2 separate regions of the Homo sapiens genome follow, and region 2 is linked to region 1. The links are contacts of gene promoters, found by promoter capture Hi-C in blood cells and fetal thymus (Javierre and others, 2016). All regions are on one chromosome and are shown on one strand. Each heading gives the region's core, a stretch centred on a gene start or on the middle of the fragment in contact. The rest is flanking DNA. Distances are from core to core; before and after follow the strand shown.

Evidence for each region. Contacts are between HindIII fragments. The CHiCAGO score rates a contact against its expected background, and 5 or more counts as called.
Region 2: a contact is called between a fragment that was not itself captured here and the fragment with the promoter of ZNF22 in region 1, in 2 of 17 cell types (M2 macrophages and fetal thymus). The highest score is 6.7, in M2 macrophages.

What each region holds. Positions count from the first base shown.
Region 1 is chr10:44,998,816-45,002,777 of GRCh38, reverse strand. ZNF22 (zinc finger protein 22) reads right to left here and starts at 1,855. Exons shown (of 2, transcript NM_006963.5): 1 at 1,800-1,855. LOC124902530 reads right to left here. Exons shown (of 3, transcript XM_047426129.1): 3 at 395-1,998. The coding sequence ends at 1,369. It overlaps ZNF22-AS1 (ZNF22 antisense RNA 1), which reads left to right and starts at 1,975. Exons shown (of 4, transcript NR_126421.2): 1 at 1,975-2,248; 2 at 2,362-2,492; 3 at 3,356-3,461. RefSeq lists an enhancer at 1,239-1,739 and a silencer at 1,466-1,815. The HindIII fragment of the contact is 6,687 bases long and covers 1-3,962 here.
Region 2 is chr10:45,674,721-45,679,033 of GRCh38, reverse strand. It overlaps the pseudogene AGAP10P. Among named protein-coding and RNA genes, the nearest start is that of ZFAND4, 4.1 kb to the right of the region's middle. The HindIII fragment of the contact is 504 bases long and covers 2,255-2,758 here.

The DNA.
Region 1 (3,962 bases), core at 606-3,105:
TTACACTACTTTATGATATATTCCTGTTTATCTGTATTTAGCATTCGATTTCCATAGCTCTAGATGACAGTTTAGCTCTAATTCTGTAGCATAAAGTGTTTTGAAAATTGAAACTTCTCTACAGGGAGTGGTAGGTTTACTTAGTCTATGAAGACACGCTTTATTATTGGTTTTTATAGATCCTAATGATCCAAGAAAGCAATTTGTTGAAAACCCAAAACGAAAGTACTGTTTTCGGAGACAGAAAAACTGCAAAAGAACTTTTACCAGAAAGTGGAATGAAACTGAGTAGAAAACGCATGGTAGGTAGGACACAAGAAAAGGAGAGGGGGGAGAAAATGAGTTTACATGTAAAACTAGGATGGAATTTTTAGAATACCCAAATGCTGCAAAATTCAAAATTTCAAATGATTTTATTTATTTATAAGGCTGACTTGTGGCTATTTAAAATAACGGCCAAAACAAACCAACAAAAACCCCTACAAACCCCACATAGGTGGCAATGTCGGAAAATCTAGAACTTCAAAAGCAATAAAATTATTGGAACTATTTTTCATTATCTTGTGTCAGAATGTGGAATTTAAAATAGAAACAATTATTCTGGGTTTCTTTGCATACAAACATATAAAGCAAATAAATGAAAACAAAAACATAATTTTTCTTGCCTTCCTTTCATCTTATTGTATAATTGAGACTTTAGGTCCAGGACTTTATCTGGATATTTAATAATTACATCAGCTGTAATTATGGTCAGCGTAAGAGTAAGCCGCATATAACACAAGATTACAGTTAGGACTACCCACTCCTTAACTTAAGCAAATATTTACAGAACATCTACCACACAGGAGACATTGTGTTAGGTACATGGTGTTGGTGTTGCTTTTTTTTTTTTTTAATAACTATAATGGTCATTATACATAAAAGCACACGCATTTAATACAATGGAAGTCAGATCTAGTCAGAAACTCAGACTGTCAAATCCACCTACGGATGAGGCAATCATACTAGTATGTGCCAGACACTGTGTAACTTGATTCTGTGCTAGCTCTTTAATTCTCCTGGCACCTTTATGCAGTTATTTCCGTTTTAAGTTAAGGAAACGAGGGCACAATGCTAGAAGGCACTGGCCGGGTTCCCAGACCCTAGCAGTTTGACTCCAGAGCCTGTACTCTTAGTGGCAGCCACATCTTCCATTGCTCAGTCCAGCGCGGCGACCCGTGCTTTGCATAGCTCCCCAGCAGGGGCAAGCACGAAGTTAAACCTGAGTGACAGAAGCTGCTGTTCTTGCACACCCAGCTAACTGGAATGTGCCTCAGTTTCCTCGTAAAATGGGGAGGGTAATGATAAAGTGGCAACACCATCAAGATGTTAGAAGTTGCAATGAGTCTGAATCTGAAAACCGCTCAGAGCAGCCCTGTGCTGCCTAAGCATTTGTTCCACGTATCTAGTCCTCGAACGCTCCGAGCGACGGAAGGGGCCGGGGCTGCTGCTCACCCGCCCAGTTCCACCCGCCGCGGGCCGCGCCTCGCCCGGGCCCCCAGTCCAAGCCTCCCGTTCCCAGCACTCCGCCGGCCGCTCCTCATTGACCCGGCCCGCCCGCCGCGCAGGCCGCGGCCCCACCCTGGGCCCGCGTGGCCCTCCCGCCCCCGCCCGGCGGCCAGGCCCTGCCCGGAGGCGGGAGACGCAAGCCACGCCATCGCCCGGGCCCGCGCCGCCCTCGTTGCGGCCAGCGCGCTCCCGAGCGGACCCGAGTATCCGACGCAGGCCCCGAGCGCCCCAAGTGCCCCAATCCCACTCACCGCGCGGGACCAGCCACCACTCTGGCTCGCTGGGCGCCTCCCGCGCCGCCGGAAGTGAGGGCCTCGCCGCGCTCTGGCGCCGCCGCGGTCGCTCTAGGAAAGTGGCGGAGCGACCCTCTATGGTCCCGGGCCCACCCGAAAGCGTTGTTCGTTTCTTCCTGTGGTTTTGTTTTCTCCTCCCCCCAACTCGGAAGGCGTCCTGTGACCCCCGGGACCTCAAGAGCTGTAACCGCCCCTGTGTGTGGTCGAGGCTTTTGAAACCAAACTCTAGCCTCTCCAACCTAGAAACTGCATACTTTCCACAAATTTTGAGATTTTTGAGACCCTGGTACTTTTCACGAAGTCACCTTAATTATCACCAAAAAGCTCCTGCAAGATGGGAGTGGTTATACTCCATTTACAGGAAAGGAACCAAGGCTCAGAGAAGAAATGTGCTCCGTTCACCGTGTGTAAGCGGACGACCCAGAATTGGAATGGTTCTTTGTGGCTCCAAAGTCTGATTTCAACACACCCCTTTTGTTGCTCATTAGTAATGATCTCTCTTTGTTCTTATTCCTTCCAGGCTCCTCCTCAGCCATCCTGGCCGTGCTCAGTCATCTGACCAGCTGACCTCCGTGTTCCCCCACTCCCTGGGGAGCTCCTCCGCCTTTTGGCTTCCAATGCTATTGCTGCATGCTGAAGACTCCCGCATTGGTAACTCCAGTCTGACTGTGGGACATAAATGTTATTGAACTTTAGACTTGTATATCGAACTGATTACTCAAGAGCTGCATTTGCATGTGTAATGGACATCCCAAACCTAACATACCCCCCAAATGAATTCCTGATATCTACCTAACCTGTTCTTGCAACAGTCTTCTTCCCAGGGATGGGTGAAGATCCCATCATCTTTCCAGTTGCTCAAGCCAAAAACCTTGATGTCACTGTTGTCTCTTCTTTTTTTCATCCAAAATTCACCTGTGATTTATCCACAAATTCTGTCGGCTTCATCGTTAAAATATATTCATTATCAAGCCACTTTCAACACTTCCACTGCTATAACCACCAAGCCACCTTCATCCACCTTCTGGATTATTATATTGGCTTCCAGACGGGTTGCCCTACAGTCTATTCACGGCCCCAGAGTAATCCTCTTAAACCTAAGTTAGATCATGTCATTCATTTGTTCAAAACCTTCAAAGGCTTCCCAACTTATTAGAGCAAAGCCAAGGACCTCGCAGTGGCACCCGATGCCTCTCATGATCTGTCTCTTTAGTTCTTTATTGTGTCTGCAGTGCTGAAAACAGTGCTCAGCAGGGAACAGACACTCAGTAAATAGCTGTTGAATGAATGAATTTATAAGATGCCTTATTGTTTACAAAGTACTTTTACATCTTATCTTCTGGTTATTCATCTTCACCATAGTCTCATGAAGCACAGATTATCATATCTGTCTTGCAAATCAGTAAACTGAAGCAAGAGAGGCTGACCTGCCTGAAGTAATACAGTGGTTTGTTGGTGGAGGCTAAACTAAGTCATAGGTTCATTCTCTTAAGTTGGGGCTTTCTGCTCTGTAGGGAGCTGTCTCTGCATATGGCAAAGCACAAAGCTGAATGAGGTCTGGACAAAGAAGCTCCACTCGCAATCTAGAGAGTATCTGGACTATTGCAGTGATTAAATGAGGTAATGTAAGGCACTTAGCACAATGTATAACACAGAAGAAATGAGAGTCGTTGTTACTTTTATTATTAAATTGTTATAAGTTGGTTGATGCTGGTGGTTGGAGAGTTTGGGGTAAAGGGCAATGGCCAGAGATCTAGAAATGGTTTAGGAAAAGCGTCAGGAGCAAACATGACCCGTTGGGACTGTCTGCTCTATGTACACTAAAATAAAAAGATAATTTTTAAAAAGCCATTTTGTTAGTAAGGTAGTTACTAATTAAAACTAACTCCTTTAATGTCTACATAAAGATGGATTATCCCTTTTTCCTATACCTGAAAACAACTGGGCCAGCCATAGAAGGGCCAGAGGTATGTCAACTAAAGCATTGGGTAAACGAGGATGGATTTTTTAAAAAGAGAGAGACGAAAGTCAGGAAATAAAGGGGTGTGTGTCCCTAAGTGTGGACAGAGTCCTGGGCAGTAAGGATGGAGAGGAGGGAGAGCCAGAAAAATATATGAAGGA
Region 2 (4,313 bases), core at 1,257-3,756, 680 kb before region 1:
CATCTCCCGGTCACGAACGTGGTGCATGTGGAGGTCCTCACCAACTTCAACAGTCACCTCAGCAGGCTGCACAGCAGCAGCCATGGGCGCTCCTGCCATCCTGTCCCCAGCTACTGCCTCATAGATCTCAGATTCAGAGGGACACACCGACCCCTGTTGCTGGTCAAACTCGAGGCTGACGCTAGGGTGCACACGACAGGTCAGTATGTTCCCCATGGGGTGCCTCTACTGTCTGCCACCACCTGTGCCTCTGCTCACAGCTTTGGCCACGCACTCCCGCTGTCCTAGGCCGAGGCTATGCTGCACTTGCAGAGATGGTCTTCCCGCTCCTCGCCTGCCCACCTCACAGCGCGGCCCCGGGCACCAGCCCTGGCCCTGGCCCTGGCCCTGGCCCTGGCCAAGGCCCGCACCCTGCTGCCTCCCCTGAGTTGACTTGTCTGGGAGGGTGAAGACCAGCCGGCTTATTTAATAGGTTGTGAACCCAACAAGTGCTGAGAGACACAACAACTGCCTGAAGAGAGAACAGACGGAGCTCCTCCTCCTTCTGTAGTCACCTACAGACTGAAGCCCACTGGCCCCAGGTGGGAGCCCAGGCATGTGGCACACAATGCCCCACCCCACACTTCACAATGCCCTCCCCGACAGCTCACAGTGCCCCACCCTGCCTGCCACCCCTCCCCAACAGCTCAGAATGCCCCTGCCTTGGCTGCCCCACCCTGCGGCTTATGATGCTGCTGCTCTCCTGGCCCCTCGTGCAGTGCCAGTGGGACTAAGGTTTTCATTCATCACCAGCTTCCTGAGATTTTAGTCCTAAGAAAAGCACAGGGTAGTTCATTCCTTGAAGCCATCTTCCTCTATGAGTTCTATACAAAGCCTCAGTAGAGTGGGTCCCATTAGCAACCAAGTTGAACAACTTTTATTTGCTGTCTGAATATAGATACACCTGAATTGTTGACTGCTTTTGTAACTAAACACTCCTCTCCTGTCTTCCAACGAGTGGTCATTTTTGTCCGCAACTTGACCACAGCAATCCCTGGGGCCCTAGCGCTACTCTCAATAAAGAGTTATGGCTGTGTGTTTTGAATGACACCTTAGGACCCATCCTGCCTCCACCTCCTTCTCCATAAAATGGAAACCTAACTTGTCCCTCTCCAAGCTCTGAAATGCTGAAACTTACCAACTCCCTTTTCTCCCCGCTATTTCTTCCTTCCGTGGCAGGGACTTTCAGGTTTTCTTTCTTTTACTAACAAGGCACTAAGCATGATTTTCTCATACAAAATCGAGAGCCATAAAGTGGCTTACCACAGTCCTATTTCAATAAAGATGAATACTCGACATCTGGCAAGTAGTGTGTGCCTGACACTGTGCTATGCTCATTTAACCCTCAGAAACAATGTCATTTTACAGATTTTACTGAAGGAGTTGAGATGGAGAAGGTAAGTAACCTCCCCAAGGTCACATGGCTGCTAAGGTTGGGGCCACAATTTGATCCCAGGTAGTCTGAATTCCCCAATTCCTGAAGCATGATTATCGGAAAGCACATTAGTCTGTTTCACACTGATATAAAGAAATACCTGAGGTTGGATAATTTATAAAGGAAACAGGTTTAATTGATTCACAGTTTCGCATGGCTGGGTAGGCTTCAGGAAACTTACAATCATGGCAGAAGGGGAACCAGGTCCGACTTACATGGTGGCCGCACAGAGAGTGGGAACATGTGAAGGAGCAACTGTCAAACATGTGTAAAACCATCAGATCTCAGCTGGGCTTGGTGGCTCACACTTGTAACCCTGGTACTTTGGGAGGCCAAAGCAGGTGGATCAACTGAGGTCAGGAGTTCGAGACCAGCCTAGCTAACTTAGTGAAATCCCGTCTCTACTAAAAATACAAAAATTAGCTGGGTGTGGTGGCGCATGCCCGTAATCCCAGCTACTCAGGAGGCTGAGGCAGGAGAATCACTGGAACCCAGGAGGCAGAGGCTGCAGTGAGCCAAGATCGCGCCATGGTACTGCAGTCTGGGTGACAGAGCAAGACTCCATCCAAAAAACAAAACAAAACAAAACCCTATAAGATCTCATGAGGACTTACTGAATATCACAAGAACAGCATGAGGATAACTGCCCCCGTGATCCAATCACCTCCCCCTAGGCCCCTCCCTCGACACATCAGGATTATGGGGATTATAATTCATGATGAGATGTGGGTGGGGGGACATGGCAAAACCATATCAGAAAGTAAAGGTAGAAGTCAAGCTTGAACAGGAAATGACATTGTAGATTACTATTTTTTTTTTCTTTTTTTTTGAGATGAAGTTTTGCTCTTGTTGCCCAATGAAGTTGTTTTTCTAATTTCATTTTCAGATTGTGTCTTGCAGATGTGTAGAAATACAATTGATAAATGATTCTGGCTATTAACCTTTGATGCTTCAACCTTGCTGAACATGTTTTTTTTTTTTTTTTTTTGAGACGGAGTTTAGCTCTTGTTGCCCAGACTGGTGGCATGATCTTGGCTCACCACAACCTCCGCCTCCCGGGCTCAAGAGATTCTTCTGCCTCAGCCTCCCTAGTAGCTGGGATTACAGGTATGTGCCACCATGCCCGGCTAATTTTGTATTTTTAGTAGAGATAGGGTTTCTCCATGTTGGTCAGGCTGGTCTCGAACTCCCGACCTCAGGTTATCCGTCCACCTCGGCCTCCTAAAGTGCTGGGATTACAGGCATGAGCCACCGTGCCCGGCCAAATCTGCTTATTTTTAAGCTTTTTGATGCTTTTCTGTTTTGTTTCAGTTTTTTTTCCTATTTATTAATACAAGTTCTTTAGGTATTTTGGATAATTGTTAAAAAGCTTTTTAATTTGTTCATTGGTTTCTTTGCTGTGAAGGTTTTCAATTTGGCATTGTCCCATGTTTAGTTTGGCTTTTCATGTCTCCACTTTTGTGACATATTCTGTAAATTATTGTCAAGATCAATACCTAGAAACTTCTAGACAAAAACCTAAAAGAAAAGTTTTCTCATTTCAGGTCTTACACTTAAATGTTGTTTTTTGATTTTTTTTTTTTTGGAGACAGAGTCTCGCTCTGTTGCCCAGGCTGGAGTGCAGTGGTGCGATCTCGACTCACTGCAGCCTTCGCCTCCCGGGTTCAAGTGATTCTCCTGCCTTAGCCTCCTGAGTAGCTGGGACTATAGGCACGCGCTACCACGCCCAGCTAATTTTTGTGCTTTTAGTAGAGACAGGGTTTTGCCATGTTGGCCAGGATGTTCTCGACCTCCTGACCTTGTGATCCACCCGCCTCCGCTTCCCAAAGTGCTGGGATTACAGTCATGAGCCACCACGCTTGGCCACATTTAAATCTTTAATAAATTTTTATTGGATTTTCGTTTGGCAAACTATGCTACCCCCCCCCCCCCACTGTCTGATCTTGTTAATAAAGTTTTATTGGAACACAACCACATTCATTGATTTACTTACTTTCTATTGTTGCTTTCACCCTACCTCCAATGTAAGAGTTGAGTAATTATGACGAGACCGGATGGCTCACAGAGCCTCAGATGTTTTCTATCTGCCCCTTTTATTTATTTTTTTGAGACGGAGTCTTGCTCTGTCACCCAGGCTGGAGTGCAGTCATGTGATCTTGGCTCACTGCAACCTCTATTTCCTGGGTTGAAGCGATGCTCCTGCCTCAGCCTCCCGAGTAGCTGGGATTACAGGCGCCTGCCATCACACCCAGCTAATTTTTGTATTTTTAGTAGAGTTGGGGTTTCACCATGTTGGCCAGGTTGGTCTTGAACTCCTGACCTCGTGATCCACCTGCCTCGGCCTCCCAAAGTGCGGGGATAACAGGCGTGAGCCACTGCGCCTGGCCCTGCCCCTTTACATAAACAGTTCGCTGACCATTGCTCTAAGGCATTCTGTTCCATTCTTGCCTTGTGGAAGCAGCAGAATGAACCTAGGTAATAGCCGGGGGAAGTGCTGAGGATAGAAATGTCAGCCTCTAGAGCAGCACTGCCCCATAGAACTCTGCAGGAATGAAAATTTTCTTTATCTGCATCGTCAAAGGCAGTAGCCACTAGCCACCTGGATGGCTGACCCCATTCTAGTCTGTGTTTTTTGGTGCTCTGTCGTCTTGCTGCTGACTATTCAGCCTGTCACCATGGTGCAGTCTTGTAGGCCGCCCAGGTTGGTCTCAGCGATCCTGGAGCTACTGACTTCTTCCTTGGGCACTGTAAGATCAGACAGGGAATTACTCATACCCAGAGTCAAAGATTTTGTTCAGCTCCCACAGGTCAACCATTTGCCCAAGTCTGCTGTGAGAGT